Linked DNA regions of Homo sapiens: region 2 is linked to region 1. The links are contacts of gene promoters, found by promoter capture Hi-C in blood cells and fetal thymus (Javierre and others, 2016). All regions are on one chromosome and are shown on one strand. Each heading gives the region's core, a stretch centred on a gene start or on the middle of the fragment in contact. The rest is flanking DNA. Distances are from core to core; before and after follow the strand shown.

The links. Contacts are between HindIII fragments. The CHiCAGO score rates a contact against its expected background, and 5 or more counts as called.
Region 2: a fragment that was not itself captured here is called in contact with the fragment with the promoter of MED17 in region 1 in 1 of 17 cell types (total CD4 T cells); the score reaches 6.3 in total CD4 T cells.

The regions. Positions count from the first base shown.
Region 1 is chr11:93,781,469-93,788,884 of GRCh38, forward strand. It overlaps MED17 (mediator complex subunit 17), which reads left to right and starts at 2,814. Exons shown (of 12, transcript NM_004268.5): 1 at 2,814-3,295; 2 at 6,533-6,699. The coding sequence starts at 3,046. RefSeq lists enhancers at 2,635-2,929, 2,871-3,090, 5,099-5,598 and silencers at 3,221-3,350, 3,352-3,546. The HindIII fragment of the contact is 2,360 bases long and covers 1,456-3,815 here.
Region 2 is chr11:90,188,870-90,196,285 of GRCh38, forward strand. It overlaps NAALAD2 (N-acetylated alpha-linked acidic dipeptidase 2), which reads left to right. Exons shown (of 19, transcript NM_005467.4): 19 at 2,689-4,025. The coding sequence ends at 2,878. Among named protein-coding and RNA genes, the nearest start is that of CHORDC1, 30 kb to the right of the region's middle. The HindIII fragment of the contact is 1,446 bases long and covers 528-1,973 here.

The DNA of each region.
Region 1 (7,416 bases), core at 1,564-4,063:
GCAAAGTGAGACCCTGTCTCGACTAAAAACACAAAAATTAATCAGTCGTGGTGGTGTGCACCTGTAGTCCCAGCTACTCGGGAGGCTAAGGCAGGAGAATCACTTGAACCTAGGAGGCGGAGGTTGCAATGAGCCAAGATCGCACCACTGCACTCCAGCCTGGGTGACAGAGCAAAACTCCATCTCAAAAAACAAAACAAAAACAAAACAAAACAAAACGAAACAAAACCTTTACAGAGTAAAAGCCATGGAAGGAGCTTCTTAGTAAAAGAAACTAGTTTGTTAACTTTAATGCTGGCACTGTCCCAACTAAGTAATGAAACAACGACACTGTTCCAATTAAGAGATAAGACACCTTGATTTCAGAATGGTATAACACAAATTGGGGATGGTTTTATCTGGCTTATCCCTCCTTCTGTCAGCCCAGCCACCTTGTCCTTGCCACCCCAACTTTTTATTTATTTATTTTTTTTGAGACAGAGTCTTACTCTGTTGCCCAGCCTGGAGTGCAGTGGTGAGATCTTGGCTCACTGTAATCTCTGCCTCCTGGGTTCAAGTGATTCTCCTGCCTCAGCCTTCTGAGTACCTGGGATTACAGGCATGCATCACCACGCCCAGCTAGTTTTTGTATTTTTAGTAGAGACGAGGTTTCGTCATGTTGGCCAGGCTAGTCTCGAACTCCTGACCTCAGGTGATCCACCCGCCTCATTCTCCCAAAGTGGAGGATTACAGGCGTGAGCCACCGTGCCTGGCCACTTTGCCCCTTTATGTTGGGAACAAAGAAATCATACCAAAGATATCTGGCCCAAAAGCACTGGAGATATGGCATGGATACCCAAAGAACTGTGTATTCACACCATTATATTACAAAGTACTGACTGGCATGCCATTTAATGTATTTATTGATTAGCTCCAAATGGAACATTTTGGCTATGTGGCACTAACCTATGACCATGGTTACTTCCAGGATAGTTAGGATGATGTTTTTCAGGTTATGCTTAATCATATATTTGAGTAGTTTGTACTTTGCCAAAACCTGCAAATTTTCCTTATTTATGATCTCATTGGGTTCATCCTGTGTTTCATTGGTATGATCACTTAGCTTCCATCTTCATACCACAACTGAGTGTTGAAGATGTTATTTGGCATATAGAGGTCCTAACCAATTATACCCAAAAGATAGCTACATAAGTATTCCATTATTAAACAATAGTTATTCTTATGGAAAAGGCCATTATTACAAAACCGTATGGCTTTTGACATACTCACCGAAGCCCAGGGAGGAACTTGCATTATCATAAAAACTGTGTGTTATGTCTGTATCCCAGATGAATCAGATAATATCACTACGTTAATGGATAATATGAAAACCTTAACAACTAACCTTTCAGATCCAACACATCTTTAAACAACTGGCTAAGCAGCTAGTTTTGATCTTGAAGACTTGGTGGCAAAAGCTTTGCTTATTCTAGGAATCATAATCATTTGTTGTTGTCTTGTTTTTGTCTGCACTATTAGACTGCCACTGCGCCTGGCTATTAATCAGATTTTAAAATAAAGTTAAAAAAAATTTTTAAACAAATTTACACGAAAAGCAAGTACAGTGGTTCTCGAACATGATTGGGCGACAGACTGTACAGCTTGCCAGAAATAGGTTTCTCTCATGAAAATTCAACCCCCTCCACACACGGCCATCTACTTTCTTCTTCAGCAGGGACTGACACCAGGGCAACCGTATTTTCCTAAATACCTTAGGAAAGTAGTTCAAAACCTAGATATATCTTGGTCAGAACAAAACCTGGCAAACACTCATGATAAACGGTATATATAATTCCTTAAACGAAATATAGAGGTTTGTAATATAAAATAATCCATCTTTGTCTGTGGAATTCCTACTAATGAAATACGTTCTTGGAGACCCAAAGACTGAAGTTATACCACTTCTTCTTAATCTTTTAAATATTATTTGCAGGCCAGGCATGGTGACACGCTCCTATAGTCCCAGCTCCTCAGGAGGCTAAGGCAGGAGCATCGTTGGAGCCCAGGAGCTCCAGGCTGTAGCGTGCTGACAGCACTTGTGAATAACCTCTGCACTCAGCCTGGGCAACATAGTGGGACCCCATCACTAATAAAAAAGCGAGATCAACATTATTTATTCTGTTACTCGGGCATAAAATAAATATTAAGCACTTACTACATGCCAGAGTCTATTATGTCTGCTGCAGATATTGGCTGTCATAGAGTTATAACTAACAGGAAACCAAATAATTACGTAGTATAATTTTAAGTGGTGATAAGCACGATTGTTTCCCCCAAGCCATGCCCTTAATTTCTAACTCTTCAGATAGTGTTTCTTTAAAAAATTTCTTGCTAATTTAAAATAACTTTTGTTTTGAGGCAGGATCCCACTCTGTTGCTTAGGCTGGAATGCAGCGGTGAGATCTCGGCTCACTGCAGCCTCCATCTCCAGGGCTCAAGCCATTCTCCCGCCTCAGCCACCCGCGTAGCTGGACCACAGGCGCGCGCCACCAGATCTCAGTTCTCTCAACAGGACTCTCATTGCTAAGATCCAAGGATCCATTAATTTCCTTTTCCTTAACTCTTCTAGCCTCTGCAGCTTTCTTTCCTCATCCACTTTTTAAACAAACGCAGGCTTAAAAAGCAAGGAATATACCCGCCACACTCTCGGCTCCCAAACCGCTCTTTCCCTCCCTCTGCCGGCCACGCCTCTTATAGGCCCGGAAGTTTACCCCACCCTGCACCGTGATTCACCGGAAGCGCTCTAGGGAACCCTGGAGCTTCCGCGCCTGCCCAGTTTTGCTCCGAAAGACTTACCGAGGAGGGAGCTTGCGGTGCGTTCTGGGAAAGTTGCTGGGCCAGCTCCTTTGTTTCCAGTCTGAGCGTTGCGTTCGGTTTCCCGAGGGTCTTCTGAGGCACCGCGGCTGCGGGCTTCTGAGTTCCCGGCTCTCCGCAGGGAAGCCTCCTCTTCGTACCTCGTTTTTTGGCTCGTGGGGGGTCCTCCCACCGCTGGCCGACGCAGCCAGCATGTCCGGGGTGCGCGCAGTGCGGATCAGCATCGAATCGGCCTGCGAGAAGCAGGTCCATGAGGTGGGCCTGGATGGCACCGAGACGTACCTGCCCCCGCTGTCCATGTCGCAGAATCTGGCGCGTCTGGCCCAGCGGATAGACTTCAGCCAGGGTTCGGGCTCCGAGGAGGAGGAGGCGGCGGGGACCGAGGGCGACGCGCAGGAGTGGCCGGGCGCCGGGTCCAGCGCAGACCAGGACGACGAGGAAGGTAAGGCCTGCATCCGCTGCCCGAGTCCCCCGGTCTGGGTCCCAGCACCCGCGCGGGCCTCCGCCTCTCCCGCGATGGGGGTGATCTTGTGCGTGCGAGAACTTTTGAGTGTCCCTCTAGCGGAAGCGTAAGGATACTTGGTCGTCATCTTTTTGTTGCTGCCGGACAAGGTAGGACACGACTTTACGTAATACTCCTGCGGGTCTCCTTGAATGGCAGCGTTTAGAGACACTGTCAAACCGTGAAATGTTTAAATGAATGCTTCTCTGTAGAGGGCCTTTAATGTAGCACACTTAGTGGCTAAAAGAGCCCTAGATCGGGGCTCTGCCCCTTGCCGGCTGTGTGACCTTGGGCGAGTTACTTTGCATCCTTGTGCGGTGTGAATGATGATAGTAGCACCTGCAGAAAAGAGGTCTGTTTTGACTGAAATGTGTGACGAGGTCCAAGAGGTAGGCGGGTCCAGATCATGTAGAACCCAGTAGGCCGGGATAAGCGTTTGACTAGTGTTAAGACCACTGAAAGCTTTTGCAGGATAAGTAGAGATGGTTTTGTTAAAGTTTACTCTAGATGCTTTCTAATAAATGAATTATAGGGAAAGCAAAACTGGAAGGGAGGAGACTAGGAGGGAAGTGAAGAAATAATGAGTGGGTTTCAGATTCTCATTATTGTCAAGGATTTTTGAAAAAAAAATCAAAATTCTTAATTTAGTTATGCAGCACACCCAGTGTAAATGGGAATTTAAAGATGTCATTTCAGGGCAGTGCTGTTAGGATTATTAGGGGTCTATTTGCAAAAAAAGGTAAATACTACTTTATACCTCACACAAAAATTATTTCCACAGTAATTTTTGAGGATTGAAGTGCCAAATGAAGAAAGTAAAACAAAGTGTTAGAAGAAATAATGAAAGAATAGTTGTATTATTCTGGGAGTCGGATAGATCTTCTTAATTTCGGAAATAACAGGACAGGCATGGTGGCTCACACCTGTAGTTCCAACATTTTTGGAGGCCAAGGTGGAAGGATCACTTGAGCCCAGACTTCAAGACCAGCCTGAGCAACATAGGGAGCTCCTGCCTCTACAAATTAAAAAAATTAGCTGGGCGTGGTGGTGCACGTCTGTGGTCCCAGCTACTGGGGAGGCTGAGGGAGGAGGATGGATTCAGCCAGTGAGATCAAGGCTGCAGTGAGCTATGATTGTGCCACCGCACTCCAGCCTGGGTAACAGAACAAGACTCTAACATCCACACACACAACCACACACCTACCTACCTTACAAAGTATAGATATATTACTTACATAAAATTTAAAAATAATGGGAAAAGATGCCATAAGCAAAGTAAAAAGATAAATGACAGACTGGGAGAAGTTCTACACATATAACACAAATTTAGTTGATATCTTCTCTATTCAAAAAGTCCCTTCAGACTGAAAAGAAAATAATGACACTTTGGAAAAATAGGCCAAAGGTATCTGAAGGCTCATAGAGGAGAGACTTCAGATACCAATAAACAGAACATAGACTCAATCTCATTACTAGGGACTGGGAAATTAAAACATGATTAAGATACTCTTTCCATGCACAAAATTGACAGAAATTGAAAAGATTGTTAATATTCAGGGTTAGGAATGTGAACTGGTAGTGATTCTGAAAGACAATTTGGCAGTTTAATATGTGCCAACATTTAATTTTAACTTTTTTTGGTTTGTTTTGTTTTTTTTTTTGAGATGGAGTCTTGCTCTGTCGGCCAGGCTGGAGTGCAGTGGTGCAATCTCGGCTCACTGCAACCCCTGCCTCCTGGATTCAAAACGATTCTCCCACTTCAGCTTCCCTAGTATGTGGGACTGTAGGCGTGCGGCACCATGCCTGGCTAATTTTTGTATTTTTAGTAGAGATAGAGTTTCACCATGTTGGCCAGGCTGGTCTTAAATACCTGATGTCAGGTGATCCACCCTGCCTCGGCCTCCCAAAGTGCTGGGATTACAGGCCTGAGCCACTGCACCCAGCCGAAACTTTTAAATGTATATCTCCTTTGATTCACTATTACCACGACTAAAAATTTAACCTGCAGAAAAAGTTGCACATATACAGGGTATATATTCAAGATGTTTACCACTGCTAGCATTGTTGGAAGCAGTTTACTTGTTGGAAGCAATCTACATGTCCGTTAAATACAAGTGGTTAAACATACCGTACATCCATGTTCCAGAATATCATACAGTGTTAGAAGAATTAAGTAGACTCATAAGTACTAACATGGAAGTGTCTCTAGGAAATATTAAGTGGGGGCGGGGGAAAGGCAAGTAATAGAAAATTGGAAATAGATGTATGTAAGTGCATAGAAAAACCTTTGAAAGGGTACACTCACTGGGGCCGGGCGCAGTGGCTCACGTCTGTAATCCCAGCACTTTCGGAGGCCGGGGCAGGCAGATCACGAGGTCAGGAGATCAAGACCATCCTGACTAACATGGTGAAACCCCGTCTCTACTAAAAATACAAAAAATTAGCTGGGCGTGGTGGTGGGTGCTTGTAGTCCCAGCTACTGGGGAGGCTGAGGCAGGAGAATGGCATGAATCCGGGAGGTGGAGCTTGCAGTGAGCTGAGATCGCGCTACTGCACTCCAGCCTGGGTGACAGAGCAAGACTTTGTCTCAAAAAGAAAAAAAAAAGAAAAGAAAGGCTACGCTCCATCTGTTAATAGTGGTTACCTCTCAGGAGGGGAGAGAATCGGGTGGGGAATGAAGGAAAACTTTCACTTTTTACCCTCTAATTCTTTATTGTGTGAACTCTATATAGTGAATGTTCATGTATTTAATCACAATACTTTTTTTAATGGTTAAAAGGAAGATATGCTAATAGTGGCTGGCTTACAGGTCATTTTCATTTTGTACTTTTCTGTATTTTGGAAATTTTGTACAATTGTAAATTCAAGTTCTAAACACTGTAAGAAGATTATTAAAAAGGTTTACATAAATTTGAAAAGAGATTTGAGTCTATAATGTTGTAATGATAAATTTAACCTGTGGAAATAGATGTCATATTCATTTTGCGATTGTAGGAATGCTAATGTGAATGTTAACAAAGTTTTAAGAAACGGTAGAGGAGATGGCATAAATAAGAGAACAATTTGAAATTTAATTAATTATTTCTCCTTTTAGTACTTTTTAAACCTAAGTGAGCTGTCTGCCATTCAATGTAACGAATACTTCTGTATTTCTTTTTTTTCTCTCTCTCTTTTTAGGAGTGGTAAAATTTCAGCCTTCCCTTTGGCCTTGGGACTCAGTGAGGAACAATTTGAGAAGTGCCCTGACAGAGATGTGTGTTCTCTATGATGTTCTCAGTATTGTTAGGGATAAAAAATTTATGACTCTTGATCCTGTCTCTCAGGATGCACTTCCTCCAAAACAGGTATTTGTGGACTTTAATTGAATAATAAAATTTTATTTATTAAATCCCAGGACCCTTTTTTGGCTTTGTGCCTGTTGTTCCATTTTCCTTTCTTGCAAAATTAAGTCCAGATGAAGATTTAAAGACTAACTGGTCTAAAACAAAGCCATACAACTGCATTTCCTTTATTTTTTTATTATATACCTATGATCCTTGGAAGAGTTAAGTTTCATTAAGAATGTAATACCTTTAAGGCCAGGCGTGGTGGCTCACGCCTGTAATCCCAGCACTTTGGGAGGCCAAGGCGGGCAGATCACGAGGTCAGGAGATCGAGACCATCCTGGCTAATGCTGTGAAACCTTGTCTCTATTAAAAATAACAAAAATAAGCCAGGCGTGGTGGTGGGCACCTGTAGTCCCAGCTACTCAGAAGGCTGAGGCAGGAGAATTGCTTGAGCCTGGGAGGCGGGGGTTGCAGTGAGCTGAGATCGCGCCACTGCACTCCAGCCTGGGCGACAGAGCGAGATTCCATCCCAAAAAAAAAAAAAAAAAGAATGTAATACTTTAAAGGTTACCAAATCTTAACAAATTCTTATAGCCTGGGTCCTTGGTCTGTGATATATTACACAAAAATGTGATGATATAATGGCTTTGGAATCAGGTAGACCTGGATTCGAATCCTGCCTCTGCCTTCATTAACTGTGTGACCTTAAATTAAGCAAGTTATTTTCTCTTAAGT
Region 2 (7,416 bases), core at 1-2,500, 3.6 Mb before region 1:
AATTGCTCTGTGTGGTAAGCATAATAATGGCCTCCCAAAGATCTCTATTTTCTAACCCCAGAACCTTTGAATATGTTAGGTTACATGACAAAGAGGAATTAAGGTGGCAGATGGATGAGTCACACTAATCAGCTGAGTTAAAATAGGGACAGTATTCTGAATTATACTGGTGGTCCCAATGATGCAGTCACAAGGGTCCTTAAAAGTCTTCCTGTAAGAGGCAGGCAGGAGAGAAAGTTAGGGTGATGCCATTGCGAAAAGACTCATCTAAAATGCAGTTGCGGATTTTGATGGTGGAGGAATGTGGTAGGCCTCTAGAAGCTAGAAAAGCAAGGAAAAGGATTCTCCTCTAGTGCCTCCAGGAAGGAATGTGACCCTGATCATACCTTGATTTTAGCTTGGTGAGACTTATGTCAGACCAACTGTAAGATAATAAATTTTTTTAAGCCACTAAGTTGGTGGTAATTTGCACAGCAGCAATATAAAATGAACACACTCTGTAATGGAATCTAAAAAGGATTAAATAAAGCTTCCTTTTTTGCAAACATCAAGTGAAATACTGTAAAAGTCTTTAAAAGCTGCAAAGCATTTAATTATGAAATTCTAGAAACATTTGTGGCCGGGCATGGTGGCTCACGCCTGTAATCCCAGCACTTTGGGAGGTTAAGGCGGGTGGATTACCTGAGGTCAGGAGTTTAAGACCAGCCTGGCCAACATGGTGAAACCCCATCTCTACTAAAAATACAAAAATTAGCCAGGCGTGGTGGTAGGCACCTGTAATTCCAGCTACTCGGGAGGCTGAGGCAGGAGAATTGCTTGAGCCCAGGAGGTGGAGGTTGCAGTGAGCCGAGATCATGCCACTGCACTCCAGCCTGGGCCGACAGAACGAGACTCTATCTCAAAAAAAAAAAAGAAATTTTGCATTATCACAACTCATCAGTGAATACTTACTATGTACTGAGGGGAAGGTTGAGGAAAAAAGACTATGAAGTGTTGACCATATTCTCTAGTCTGCTCAGTAGTTCTTGATGCCTCTTAAAAATTCAGAAATGTCCATTGTGGAGGGTAATTAAATCATCATATACTTGAAACCTTGAGAACTAGACCAGAGTTTGAATTCTTATGGGACTAGAATAGCTATTTGAGTCCACCATTTCATAAAAGGGTATTTGAGTTGCTTAAGCATTACCAATTGTCTGATCATTTCTTTTAGCTTGCTGCCTGCTTCTTATCTGAGAAAATTAGGGAAAGGATTTAGTTTCAGAATAGCTAATATTTACTGAACACCTATTAAATGTCAAGCTATGCTTTTCATCCAACATTTGATTCTCACAATTCTTTTAGAACAGTACTTTTATCACCATCATTTTTAAGATAACAGGCACAGGGAGGTTAAATAACCAGTGCAAGGCCACAAGGCTGATAGTTGATAGTATTCTGTTGATAGTAAATATGCTAGTATTCTGATTTTTAAAAAACAGGCAGTCTCAGTCTACAACCTGCTCAGTCACTACTCTAAGCAGAGTCTACATTATTTCAATTATTTTACAAATCTGGGACAAATTTAGACAACTTAGGCAATTTGCCAAAGGTCACTGAGATATTAAATGCCATATCAATGATTCAAAGGTTATTCGCTTCCTATATCAAATTTTTTTTGCTATATTCTTCCTTTACAATTCTCCAGAAGAGGGTAAGTATACTAAGGAATATCTATGACTTGCATCTCTAATTTCTTGACTCATATACAGGTCAGGATACCAATGCTTATAAACAACTTAGCACATAAACTGATTTTAATTTTAAAAAAATCCATCTGAGGCCATATTAAGATTTAAAAGCCAAGATAATAAATCCTGATGTACTTTGGTAAATCTGAATGATGAGTGTTATAGATTTGTCATTAATCATTAATCATTAATACTGACTTATATGGAGCTCTATATTGCTTCATACAGATTTACTCTAGAATAAGCTTTGGGGTTTGACTGTTGGACCTAATTCCTGATGTATTAATAAAATACATCCCTTTCTGGAAAGCAAAATTCTACGTCATTATTGCGGAAAGTAGCTTGATCCCTTGAGCTACTTATGTTGAAGTAGAAAAGCAACTATAAAACTTTCTTTTTAGATCAAAAGTTGAGTGTCTTTGCGGGCAACCCACATATAACTGTCTTACCTTTGTGGAATGGACGTCATTATCCTTGCCATTTGTAACACTTTGAAATACAGGCTTCTTTAATTACTTGTTTTTTAATGTCTAAAAAGTATTGGGAACAACTGTCATTCTTGTTTAATCTATTTTTAAAAGGCAACACAAAAATAAATTATCTTTCTCAATCTCCTCTTACTAAAAACATCCATAAACTTACATGTTATCACCATATTTGTGGATGCTTACGGGACGCTGAGCAATTATTCTGCACAACTTAAAAGAACCTGCTTTCTTCCATCTGCTTTGGGTTCGCAACATGGTATATGATTCCTGAGATATGTCTTAGCGAATGCATATTGTTAGCTTCTTTCCTGGCTTGAAATTATGATTCGCATAAGTATCTCAGATCAACTGTCTTCTTATTATAGGAACAAAAGTGAGTATCACAAGGAAACATCATGTGGTCTAAACAAAAAGCATGCAAAATGCATGTATACACTTTAGTTCAATTTGCCTTGTTTTCTTCCTTTTAGGCACATCATATTTGCTCCAAGTAGCCACAACAAATATGCTGGAGAATCATTTCCTGGAATCTATGATGCTATCTTTGATATTGAAAATAAAGCCAACTCTCGTTTGGCCTGGAAAGAAGTAAAGAAACATATTTCTATTGCAGCTTTTACAATTCAAGCAGCAGCAGGAACTCTGAAAGAAGTATTATAGAAGGTCTCAAGTGGCTAGCCATTAAAGGTGTTGCTAAAAGTCTGAGGATAAAATTCACCTTTCTGATAACTTATGAAGCCAGGGTGTTCTAAACTCTTTTCATGTCATGTTTTGATTATAGGCTTTGGTCTTTTCATCTGCAAAGCCTTTTTTTTTTGCTCTTTAAAAGTTAATAATTATATTAGCAAAGTGTTAATCTAATGAAGTAAAAAACTCCTGTGTGGCAGAAAGTAAAAGAAAATTCCCTAAATTATAGCAAGGAACATGAATTCTCAGACATTGTGAGTGTGGGAATGTAAAATGGTAAAATCACTTTTGAAAACAGTTTGGCAGTTTCCTATAAAGTTAAACATACACTTTTACTTTAGGACTCCAGAATTCCACTTCTAGTTATTTATTCAAGAGAAGGAAAAACAATGATCACAGCAATACTTGTATGCATGTTCATTGCAACTTAAAAGCGTAAAAACCCCAAATGTCCATCCACAGACGAATGTATAAACTGTGGTATCCATTACACAATAGACTACTTACTACTCAGCAATAAAAATGAAGTAACTTTCAATAAATGCAATATTATTGGCAGACATTGTTGAAGGAAAAAAGCCAGACAAACAACTACATAAAATATGTTTCTATTTAGATGAAGTGGCAAACTAATCTGTAGTGTTAAAAATTAGATTAGTGATTGCCTGGGCCAAGTGGCAGGTTGGGGAGGATGGCTGCAAAGAAGTATGAGGAAACTTTCTCCAATAGATGAGAATTTTCCGTATCTTGATCTGAGTGGCAAATTGTAAACTTAAAATATATATAAAATTTATTGTATGAAAATTAAGCCTCAATAAACGTGATTATAAAAAACAAGTCTGCAAGGAAACCAGAATCATATACCTTCTCTTGTGAAATCACCATGAAGTGTGAATGGTCAGGAAAAAGCCAGTAATATTCATACATTTAATAATTTCAGCTCTACTGAATAAACATATAAGTCTGATGGGTGATGAAAATAGCTACTACAATCTTCATATTCTAACTCCTATAAAGACTGTATATCAGAATCTGCAAACTTTTATGCAGATCCCAGTGACTCAATTACATGTTCAACTATGATTAAAGCTTCAATAAACTTGGTTGTTCATCTACTTCACCAAAACGAGTTAAGAATTAAAAATTAGAAGAGCCTTCATAGGCAAGTACAATAACTAAAATAAGAAATGACAGCTCAAAGCTTAACTACAAGGAAAAACTACCCATTACCCTTGCTCCCAGGCCAACAATACAGTTTAACTTAAAACAGTGGGGGCATTTAGTTTAGGGGCATTTTCTATACATCTCAGTATTACTAGAGGGTATTTCACTGATCCCCCACAATAAAATAAGTTGCAAGTATAGCAATGACTCTGTCATCAAGGTAACTTTTAAATATGTTCCATTCCTTCTGCTTAAAGAGGCAATAAGGTGTGCTATTTATGAAGTATAAATATACACAATTAAGACTTTTGTAAAAGGGAGTTAACTTTACTACCACGCTACACTACCAAAGTATAACACTTTAACTTTTGCCTTGAAGCACTGTGTTGTAGAAAATATACTGCATTAAGACCCATGAATCATACTATCTACTACCCAACTGAGTAGATCACTACGTATCTCTGGGCATCAGTTCCCTCCAACTCTATCATTTCTAAAGGAGACAAAGCACAAAGGTTTAGAAATGTCTTGGGTGTTCTTCCTACTGGTAGTTTTCCTGAAGACAAATGCGAGCTGCCAGAACAGCATATTTGGTCTGAAATATGAGTTTGGAGTAAAATAGTAATTATTGCAATTTAATTTTTCCTTTAATTCTTGTTTTTTTTAATCATTTTTAATCAATATCTGATTGTTAGCAACAGAACAAGTGATTGTGTGGCATGCACTATAATCAATTCAGGATATTTAATATAGAATATGTGTTATCACATGTTAAATAGGGCATATGTTTGAACTTTTTAAAAAAACTTTTCCCCTAAGCATTTGAGATCAGCTGAATTAAGCTGCTAATCATTATTCCCCTTTGATCTCATTCCTTGGTCCAAGTCCTGAGAGAGATACTGTTCCTCTTAAGGATACTTACGAAATAATGACATGGAAATATTTTGCTTGTCACAGTATATTGCCTGTTTTAAGACCTACTTTTAAAATCAAATAAGCCATAAATTCTTATTGTAATGCCATACTTTTAATCATTTAAACTAAATGTTTAATCAGAAGTTGTCTAATATAAAAACTAGTAAAAAAGCACGTGAAATGTATATACTTTAACCAAGAAATTCTAAAAATTGGTTTCTATAGAGAAAACTGGACAGAATGACAATGTATGTGACACAAAGGTGTTTACCACAGCATTTTTTATCACAGTAAAAAATAGTAAAAAAAAAAAATCACAAGCTAAATATCAATGGAGAATTGATTATAGTATAATATAAAAATGATCATACAATGATCATATATACATTTTTCACTTATATAGTAAGTTGTCCATGACTTACTGGTTAAAAAAAGTGATAAAACTAAATATATGAATATCAAACAAAATACAAATAGTGCTTGCATTTCGGTGGTAGACTTTTATGTGACTTGTACTCTGTACTGAATTGCTAAAATTTTTTACATCATATTCCCTTTTATAAGGGTTAAAATAATATAATAACTACTGTTTTCATTTTGAACAGACAAAAGTACAGAGTTCTGGGATACAATACAGTTCACAAATAGTAATCCTATTTTGTACCCTTGAAATTTATTAGTTTATTCTGAGGATACAAATAACATTTATATATGCACACATGAGCCATCTTAATATTTCCATTTAGTTCAGAATTTCAAAAATATCAATCGATCCTTGAACTTTCAAGTATAGAAATGAGTTTAGGGTAAAATAGTAACCTTTGAAATAATTACAGTACTGTATTAGATTTGTCTTTTTCTTTAATTGCTTAACTTCATGAACTCATTTGTTTTTTTCTTTTTAATTTTTATTCATCTACTTTTTCCAATCCCCAATGTGATTAAATTCAGAAGAACAGTATCTTTCAAGTAAATGATGCAAAACTTCCTTTCACATCATCTCACGTCCTTTCCCCCTTTGTATTAGTAGATAATTATACTATCTACAGCCAGAACGATCTTCCTAGACGTGATCATGCTATGTGCTATGAAAAAAACCTTCAATGGGGACCTCCACTACCGAAATGATGTGGTAGTACTGGCAGTCGCTCCCAGGTGCAGTAACTAGGAAAAAATGGATCAAATGCAAAATACATTACAGATACGAAAGAGCTGTGGAAGCGCTTAAGACTAGATGTACTAAAAGTCTTTGTCTTTTCTACATAGCTGAGACTACCAACTGTTTTCTTTCCTGGCATCATTTGCCAATTCTAGGCATGGATTAAAGATCAGGCTTTGTGTGGACTAAAGCACTTTACTGGGGAAAATCAGCAGGACTTTTACTGACTGCATGATCTATCATGATGTACTAGAATCTAGAGGAGCCCTAAACCCAATACTGAGTGAGACTAGAACTTAGGGGCTAGGCAAACAAGTTTTCTTAACAGGCCAATACCACCTCTCAATGCCAGGCTTCTTCATATCCTATTCTTTCTCCCATTTCCTCTCTTGTATTTGGCCACTTCTATCCTTTTTTCCCCCCTCAGGACTCTGCTATTTATCCTTCACGAAATCCATCCATAAAATCTACCAAATACGCACCACAGAAGCTTTCTACAGGCTTATCTTTGGCATAATTTTTATTTAACAACCTCTTATTTTCCTTGTTGTATCCTTTCTTGGAAGTGGAGTCTTTAATTATCTCCAGCACATAGGAAGTGACCTGAGTGCTGAATAAAAAATAAGCAATGGAATCGCTACATTAAAGATGCTTACAAACTTTTATTATCAATAAAATCTATAAATTTTACACCTATCAACTCAGAAAAATTCACTGGGAGGAGAAAAACTATTAAAAAGCCTAACTTCAAATGAACTCAAACTTTCCTGCCAAATCATAAATATGAAAAGTAAATCATCCATGTATGCTAGAGGATCTCTCTGGGAGAAGTGTCCTACAATTTATAACATTTTACAAGTGGTTAAATCCATTAAAACTTCAAAAACTTTTAGATTGTCTTTCTCCTGTAATGTGATATCTTCCCTAACTTGCTAAAACTGAGAACCCAGCTAGCTTTACATAACTGAAATGATTGAATTTGTTTGCCTAATACACTAATATTTGATTTTAATGAATTATCTCACTCCCACAAAGTGTCTTATGTTAGCTGCCTTCATACGTGGCCTTTTAATCATCCACATCTAAGAATACTGAGATGCAAAAATTGCTCAGAGTCCAGATGATAATAAGGCTAAGTTTATTTCTAGGCACAAGCATTTAGAACAAACTGCCTGCAAGGGACAAATTTACCGCCATGGGCCTTTTACTTTCACTTGGTCTTACAGCTGCAGAATCCATCCCTAATTTTTGTCAACTGCCCATTGGCCTTTTA